Regions from separate parts of the Homo sapiens genome. Here region 2 is linked to region 1. The links are contacts of gene promoters, found by promoter capture Hi-C in blood cells and fetal thymus (Javierre and others, 2016). All regions are on one chromosome and are shown on one strand. The core of a region is centred on a gene start or on the middle of the fragment in contact, and the rest is flanking DNA. Distances in the headings are between cores, read along the strand shown.

Region 1 (3,750 bases), core at 361-2,860:
GCTGTTGGCCTCAGCCAGTCACCTGGCGGTGGCAATCAAAATGACGCCTTCTTTTTATTTTTCCCCCAGTGCAATCTTCCAAGAATGGGAGAGTCTCAAAGTCAGAGTTTAAGCCCTTTTTCACAAGGGAGTCAGTATTTTCACAAGATGGTCTTCCTCAGAGAGGGGAGGAGTCCATCCAACCCAGATAGCAAAATTGCTCCCTGGAGATCCTGGATGGATGTTACAGGGCAAGGAAGCCAAAATGTGGAAGCACACCGACTCACCTCTCAAAATTCACCACCCACTCGTTCATCTCACAATTATCTATGGGGTGCTTCCCACGTGCTTCAACGCACCCTTTCTAGGTGCTGGGGATGCAGAAATTCAAGGTGACTGGCAATGACACTTTCTATCACTGCGCCCCCTGCAGGCCAGGAAATCTACGCTCGTTTTCTCAAGGCCCCACTCGCAGCAGCCCATTTCACAGACGGGACCCTAAGACTCAGAGAGGGTAAGCGACTTGCCCAAGGTCACACAGCTAGTAAGCGGCAGGGCCAGGAATTAAACATAGCTGCAAAGTGCATGTGACACTCCCCCGCAGCCCCAGCTCTATCCCTCCGCACCCCTCCACCTCTTGCAGCAGGGTGGGTAGCAAAGGCACACTCCAAGTAGCTCCAGCATGGTAAGACCTCGATTCCTCCTTCGTTCCACTCCTGACACAGGACACACGTTTCAAAGGACACACAGGTTTTTCCCAACCCCAGTGTGTGTGTACACAGCCCCAGGAAAGCCCTGCAGGCTGCAAGGGCACCCACCCGCTAACACTGAACTTCCATTTAAAAAGAAAGATAATGAAAAGATAAAAGGCGAAGAGGAAGTGCTCTTTAAACACAGGCGGGTGGCTACCCCAGGAGGAAGTCTTGAGGCCAGTGGAGATTTTGTTCACCCCCTCTAGTTCCTCAAATCCAATGCGACTGGTCTTCCAAGCCCCTGATGGGAGGTGGCCGGGGGCCAGCGCTGCTCCCGGGGTCAGTCCCCGCACCGACACCCGGCTCGCAGGAAGGGTCTGCCAGGGACCAGCCACCCCGACCCGAGCGCCCCCTGCCTCGAGGCGCACAAGGCGCCGGCTCCGCAGCTGGGTGGACCCGGGCGGCGGCCCCGCTGCGCGCTCCCCTCGCGTCCGCCCGCCGCCCCCCGCGCACTCGAGGCGCCTCCCCCGGGACCCCCGCGCCCGCCGGCCCGGACGCCCCCACCACGGCGGCGCCCCCTGTCCACCCGCCGCAGCGCCCGGCCCGGCGGCCCGGATGGTACCTCCGCCTCTCCCCGCACCCATCACGCGCGCGCCCCGCACCCCGCGCCCTCTCCGGGGGCAAATCGGATCCAGGGGCGCGCGCGCGGGCCGGCCGGGCGGCGGCGCCTTCAGAGCCCCGGCACGTACCTGGCGGCCCGGGCGGGCGAGGGGAGCGCGGCGCGGGAGCGCAGGAGCCTCGGAGCCTCCGGTGCCGCCGCCGCCGCCGTTTCCGGGTTGGCGGGGCTCACGTCACCGCCACAGGTTTGCGAGCTGCCCCCGCCGCGGCGGCAGCAGCAGCAGCAGCAGCAGCCCGGGCGAGTGCCAGGCGAGAAATAACTATAAAAGGAAGAGGCGCGGCGAGGAGGAAGAGGAAGCGCTGTTTACCTTCGAGAAGCCGAGCCGCCGGCGCTCGCACAAAAGGAGGACGCTCGCCTCGCGACGCGCCTCCCCCCGCGCCCAGTCCCCGCCGCATCGCGGGGCCCCGGCGTCAGCGCGCGCCGCGCCCCGGGACCGCCCCGCGCCGGCCCCCACCCCAGAACCCCGCGCCCGCCTGGCCCGTGTCCTCCCGAGCCGGGGCGCCACGGGCCCGGGACGGTGGTGACCTTGGGCAAGTCACCGCGGGGCGCGCTGCGATTGGGGGTCATCGCCCTCATTGTGCGAGGAGGAAACCCGGCTCCGAGAGGCGCAAGAGTGACCCCCAAGGTCACTGCCTGTCAGGCAGGGCTTGGGCTCGAACCCCGGTCTCCAGACCTTCAGGCCGGCCAGGTTCCCATCCCTGGGTCGCTTCCCCCTCACCTGGACTTCAGGAATGGTGACAGCCCCTGCCTGGCTCACCTCGCAGCGGGGTCAGTGAGAGGAATGCTGTCCACGCACCCATTCAGCCCTCCCGCAGATACTTACTGGGCCTACTAAGTGCCCGGGCTGTTCTAGGCCCTGGAGCTGCAGCTGCGAACCAAAACAAAATCCCTGCCCGGGAGGGGCAGCGGGGACAGGCCGTAAATATCTGATGGGTCCTATGGTGCTAAGTGCTGTGCCAGAGGAAAAATAAAGCGGGGTGAGGGGACGGTGCGGGCTGTCGGTGCTACCCTAAGCGGTTCTCCAAGGACTTTAAATTTAGTACAGAAATTCCCACATAAAAAGCTCCTCGCCATAATTCCAGTTTCAGGTATTATGGGAGACCTCATCTTTCCCCTGATCTAGAATGGAAAATACTGTGTTTTTCTCCCTGTAACAGGACATGCCTAGGAAACTGATACTCTCCTTCCCTCTGCCTTGCTCCCCTGGCCCAGAAGCCCATCCTATCATTATCTTGACATTCAACCAGAAATTTCTCGGGAAGATAGACAACATTCTCTCAAGTATCTTTCTGCTGTCCTCTAGCAGGGTATCAAAAGGGTTACATCAAAGGCTTCCATTGTCTTTCCACCTCCACCTCCAGCTATAGGGGGGTTGGAGTGTGCTCACATCATACTCAGTGCTGAGTTACCTGATTAGGAGCCAGTTGTTCCATTTCTTTTCTTTTTTCTTTCTTTTTTTTTTTTTTGTCTAAGACAGGATTTTGCTCTGTTTCCCAGGCTAGGTAGCGCAGTGATGCGATAGCTCACTGCAGCCTCAAATTCCTGGGCTCAAGCGATCCTCCCACCTCAGCCTCCCGAGTTGCTGGGACCACGGGTATGCACCACCATGCTCAGCTAATTTTTATAGATTTTTGTAGAGGTGGGTCTCCCTGTGTTGCCCTGGCTGGCCTGTTTCTCCTGGGCTCAAGGGATCCTCCCTGCCTCCGCCTCCCAAAGTGTGGGGATTACAGGCATAAACCACCACACCCAGCCCGCCAATTCTTTAACAAAGGTGCCTTGCGCCTTCTCTTGGCCAGGCCCAGTTCTCGGAGCTGGGGACCCTGAGATGGTGCCATTTCAGCAGTACTCCCTGGACTGCTCTCTAAGCTTACCCGAGCGCCAGTGCCTTCATTCCTAAAGGAAGGGAACTAATGTCCACCTTGCTGTGGGGGCTGAGAAGTAGGTGGGGAAACACTGGGTCCTGAACTATGACCTTGAGGAGAAGCAGGAAAAGGGTTTGGAAGCAGGCAGAGCTGAGCCGCTTATAAAATGAGCATTAACAATTCTGAACATTTATAAAGTACTAAGCAGGTGCCAAGTGTGTGCAGGCCCATGAAGCAGGTTTATCATGGCCCAGTGTCATGCATTAAGATACTGCAGCTGGAAGAGAGATGAGATTTGCCCAAGATCACACAGATTAGACAGCGGTGGAGCTGGGTATGTACCTAGATTGTCTGACTCCAGAGCCCAAGCACTTAGCCACTCTCAGCCTCAGTTTGTTCATCTGTGAAATGGAATGGATAATAATGACTTCGTTAGGTTATGGTGAGGGTTAAATGAAATAGCGAATATATAGAACCTAATATGGATAGGACCCAGGAGAAAGCAATCACCATTGTTGTTACTATTATCATAACTGTT
Region 2 (3,750 bases), core at 538-3,037, 2.3 Mb before region 1:
CCAGCCTAGACTACAGGGTGAGACCCTGTCTTAAAAAAAAAATTAAAGAAGAAAAAACTCTCTTTTCTTTTCTTTCTTTCTTCTTCTTCTTTTCTTTTTTTTTTTTTCTTTTTTTTTTTTTAGAGATGGCACGTCACCACATTGCCCAGGCTGTTGTCGAACTCCTGGCCTCAAACGATGCTCCCACTTGAGCCTCCCAAAGTGCTGGGACTACAAGCATAAGCCACCACACACGGCCTTTTCCTTTCTTTTTCTATTTCTCAATGGATTTTTCCAATGGACACGTATCACTTTGGTAGTTATACATGATACTAGTTGTAATCTCAGCCATTTTTCAACCCAGCAAATGTCTATTCTAGGTCAAATATGTCTCAAAAATTACTAAAAGAAAATCAGTTATGTCCTTTAACCTGGCTGAGGTCTGGCTTTGTTTTCTCTCATGTAAAAATGGAGATGGCACAAAACAACTCCAAGCTGTTACTTGAAAGTAACACCTCAGGTGATGTCACCAGCCTGAGGGAGAGTGAGGTTAAGTTCTGAACCCACAGGCATTATATCTGCCTGGGGTTCACATGCCCTACACTGGACTGGCATAATTTGAGAGTCAGATCCGAAGATGTGGTATATCCGCCATCTTTAGCAACTTTCAAAAACTACCCTATGAGGTCAAGCTGGACCTACTTTTGGTTTTGCCATTGTTGTTTGTTTGTTGTTGAGGGTTTTCTTTGAGGGGCGGGGAGTGCATGCCCCTGTGGAGAGCACTCATTTAGCTTCAATTAGAGTAATGCCAAAAGTGCCAGATTCCTGGGAAATCAGCCTACAAGGCTCCTGCGGGAAGGAACCTCCACTGCCAGAAGTCCTTAGGGCATCTAAGTGATCAGACACCGTCAGGGATTCTTTGCCCCGTAAAAACCTACTTGACCAGGGACACGTGCCAGGTAAATTTCCTTCACATTTACTTCAACCTTATTGCATACTCATTTTAGTATTAAAACCTTTAATAAAATGCTCCTATTCCTTCACACTTTTTTTCTATGAGATCTCAAATACCCCTTCTTGCTATTAAAAAAAATCACTTATTATTCACCAGCCCAATATTTTAAAAGTAAAAATAATAAGCCAAGGCCAGGAGCGATGACTCGCACTTGTATTCCCAGCAGTTTCAGAGGCAAAGGCCGAAGGATCGCTTTAACCGAGGAGTTTGAGACCAGCCTGGGCAACATGACCAGACTGCCTCTCTACAAAAAGTTTAAAAAATTAACCGGGTGTGGTGGTGCACTGCACTCCCAGCTACTGGGCTGGGGTATCAGGCTGAGGTAGGAGGTTTGCTTTGAGCCCGGGGGGATCGAGGCTGCAGTGAGCTTTGATTGTGCCACTGCACTCCAGCCTGGGTGACAGAAGGAGACCCTGTCTCAAAAATAATAAGAATAATAATTAATAATAATAGGCCAAACCAAATACCCATCACCTTCTGCTGTGCCTCCCCTTTCCCCAATAAATCCAGTGTCTTGCTTTCAAATTTTGTGGTTAAAAAAGATGATGAGTTTCTAAGACGTGGGGGCTAAAGCTTGTTTGGCCGTTTTAGGGTTTGTTGGAATTTTTTTTTCGTCTATGTACTTGTGAATTATTTCACGTTTGCCATTACCGGTTCTCCATAGGGTGATGTTCATTAGCAGTGGTGATAGGTTAATTTTCACCATCTCTTATGCGGTTGAATAGTCACCTCTGAACCACTTTTTCCTCCAGTAACTCCTCTTTCTTCGGACCTTCTGCAGCCAACCTGAAAGAATAACAAGGAGGTGGCTGGAAACTTGTTTTAAGGAACCGCCTGTCCTTCCCCCGCTGGAAACCTTGCACCTCGGACGCTCCTGCTCCTGCCCCCACCTGACCCCCGCCCTCGTTGACATCCAGGCGCGATGATCTCTGCTGCCAGTAGAGGGCACACTTACTTTACTTTCGCAAACCTGAACGCGGGTGCTGCCCAGAGAGGGGGCGGAGGGAAAGACGCTTTGCAGCAAAATCCAGCATAGCGATTGGTTGCTCCCCGCGTTTGCGGCAAAGGCCTGGAGGCAGGAGTAATTTGCAATCCTTAAAGCTGAATTGTGCAGTGCATCGGATTTGGAAGCTACTATATTCACTTAACACTTGAACGCTGAGCTGCAAACTCAACGGGTAATAACCCATCTTGAACAGCGTACATGCTATACACGCACCCCTTTCCCCCGAATTGTTTTCTCTTTTGGAGGTGGTGGAGGGAGAGAAAAGTTTACTTAAAATGCCTTTGGGTGAGGGACCAAGGATGAGAAGAATGTTTTTTGTTTTTCATGCCGTGGAATAACACAAAATAAAAAATCCCGAGGGAATATACATTATATATTAAATATAGATCATTTCAGGGAGCAAACAAATCATGTGTGGGGCTGGGCAACTAGCTAAGTCGAAGCGTAAATAAAATGTGAATACACGTTTGCGGGTTACATACAGTGCACTTTCACTAGTATTCAGAAAAAATTGTGAGTCAGTGAACTAGGAAATTAATGCCTGGAAGGCAGCCAAATTTTAATTAGCTCAAGACTCCCCCCCCCCCAAAAAAAGGCACGGAAGTAATACTCCTCTCCTCTTCTTTGATCAGAATCGATGCATTTTTTGTGCATGACCGCATTTCCAATAATAAAAGGGGAAAGAGGACCTGGAAAGGAATTAAACGTCCGGTTTGTCCGGGGAGGAAAGAGTTAACGGTTTTTTTCACAAGGGTCTCTGCTGACTCCCCCGGCTCGGTCCACAAGCTCTCCACTTGCCCCTTTTAGGAAGTCCGGTCCCGCGGTTCGGGTACCCCCTGCCCCTCCCATATTCTCCCGTCTAGCACCTTTGATTTCTCCCAAACCCGGCAGCCCGAGACTGTTGCAAACCGGCGCCACAGGGCGCAAAGGGGATTTGTCTCTTCTGAAACCTGGCTGAGAAATTGGGAACTCCGTGTGGGAGGCGTGGGGGTGGGACGGTGGGGTACAGACTGGCAGAGAGCAGGCAACCTCCCTCTCGCCCTAGCCCAGCTCTGGAACAGGCAGACACATCTCAGGGCTAAACAGACGCCTCCCGCACGGGGCCCCACGGAAGCCTGAGCAGGCGGGGCAGGAGGGGCGGTATCTGCTGCTTTGGCAGCAAATTGGGGGACTCAGTCTGGGTGGAAGGTATCCAATCCAGATAGCTGTGCATACATAATGCATAATACATGACTCCCCCCAACAAATGCAATGGGAGTTTATTCATAACGCGCTCTCCAAGTATACGTGGCAATGCGTTGCTGGGTTATTTTAATCATTCTAGGCATCGTTTTCCTCCTTATGCCTCTATCATTCCTCCCTATCTACACTAACATCCCACGCTCTGAACGCGCGCCCATTAATACCCTTCTTTCCTCCACTCTCCCTGGGACTCTTGATCAAAGCGCGGCCCTTTCCCCAGCCTTAGCGAGGCGCCCTGCAGCCTGGTACGCGCGTGGCGTGGCGGTGGGCGCGCAGTGCGTTCTCGGTGTGGAGGGCAGCTGTTCCGCCTGCGATGATTTATACTCACAGGACAAGGATGCGGTTTGTCAAACAGTACTGCTACGGAGGAGCAGCAGAGAAAGGGAGAGGGTTTGAGAGGGAGCAAAAGAAAATGGTAGGCGCGCGTAGTTAATTCATGCGGCTCTCTTACTCTGTTTACATCCTAGAGCTAGAGTGCTCGGCTGCCCGGCTGAGTCTCCTCCCCACC

The links. Contacts are between HindIII fragments. The CHiCAGO score rates a contact against its expected background, and 5 or more counts as called.
Region 2: a contact is called between the fragment with the promoter of CASC11 here and the fragment with the promoter of CYRIB in region 1, in 1 of 17 cell types (non-activated CD4 T cells). The highest score is 6.4, in non-activated CD4 T cells.

The regions. Positions count from the first base shown.
Region 1 is chr8:130,014,950-130,018,699 of GRCh38, forward strand. CYRIB (CYFIP related Rac1 interactor B) reads right to left here and starts at 1,611. Exons shown (of 14, transcript NM_001353258.2): 1 at 1,421-1,611. RefSeq lists silencers at 904-1,173, 1,364-1,553, 1,644-1,713, 1,764-1,823. The HindIII fragment of the contact is 5,812 bases long and covers 1-3,214 here.
Region 2 is chr8:127,732,180-127,735,929 of GRCh38, forward strand. It overlaps CASC11 (cancer susceptibility 11), which reads right to left and starts at 1,788. Exons shown (of 4, transcript NR_117102.1): 1 at 1,646-1,788. It also overlaps a transcript of MYC not described here. RefSeq lists an enhancer at 457-958, a cis regulatory region at 538-3,280 and a silencer at 1,863-1,982. The HindIII fragment of the contact is 10,989 bases long and covers 1,566-3,750 here.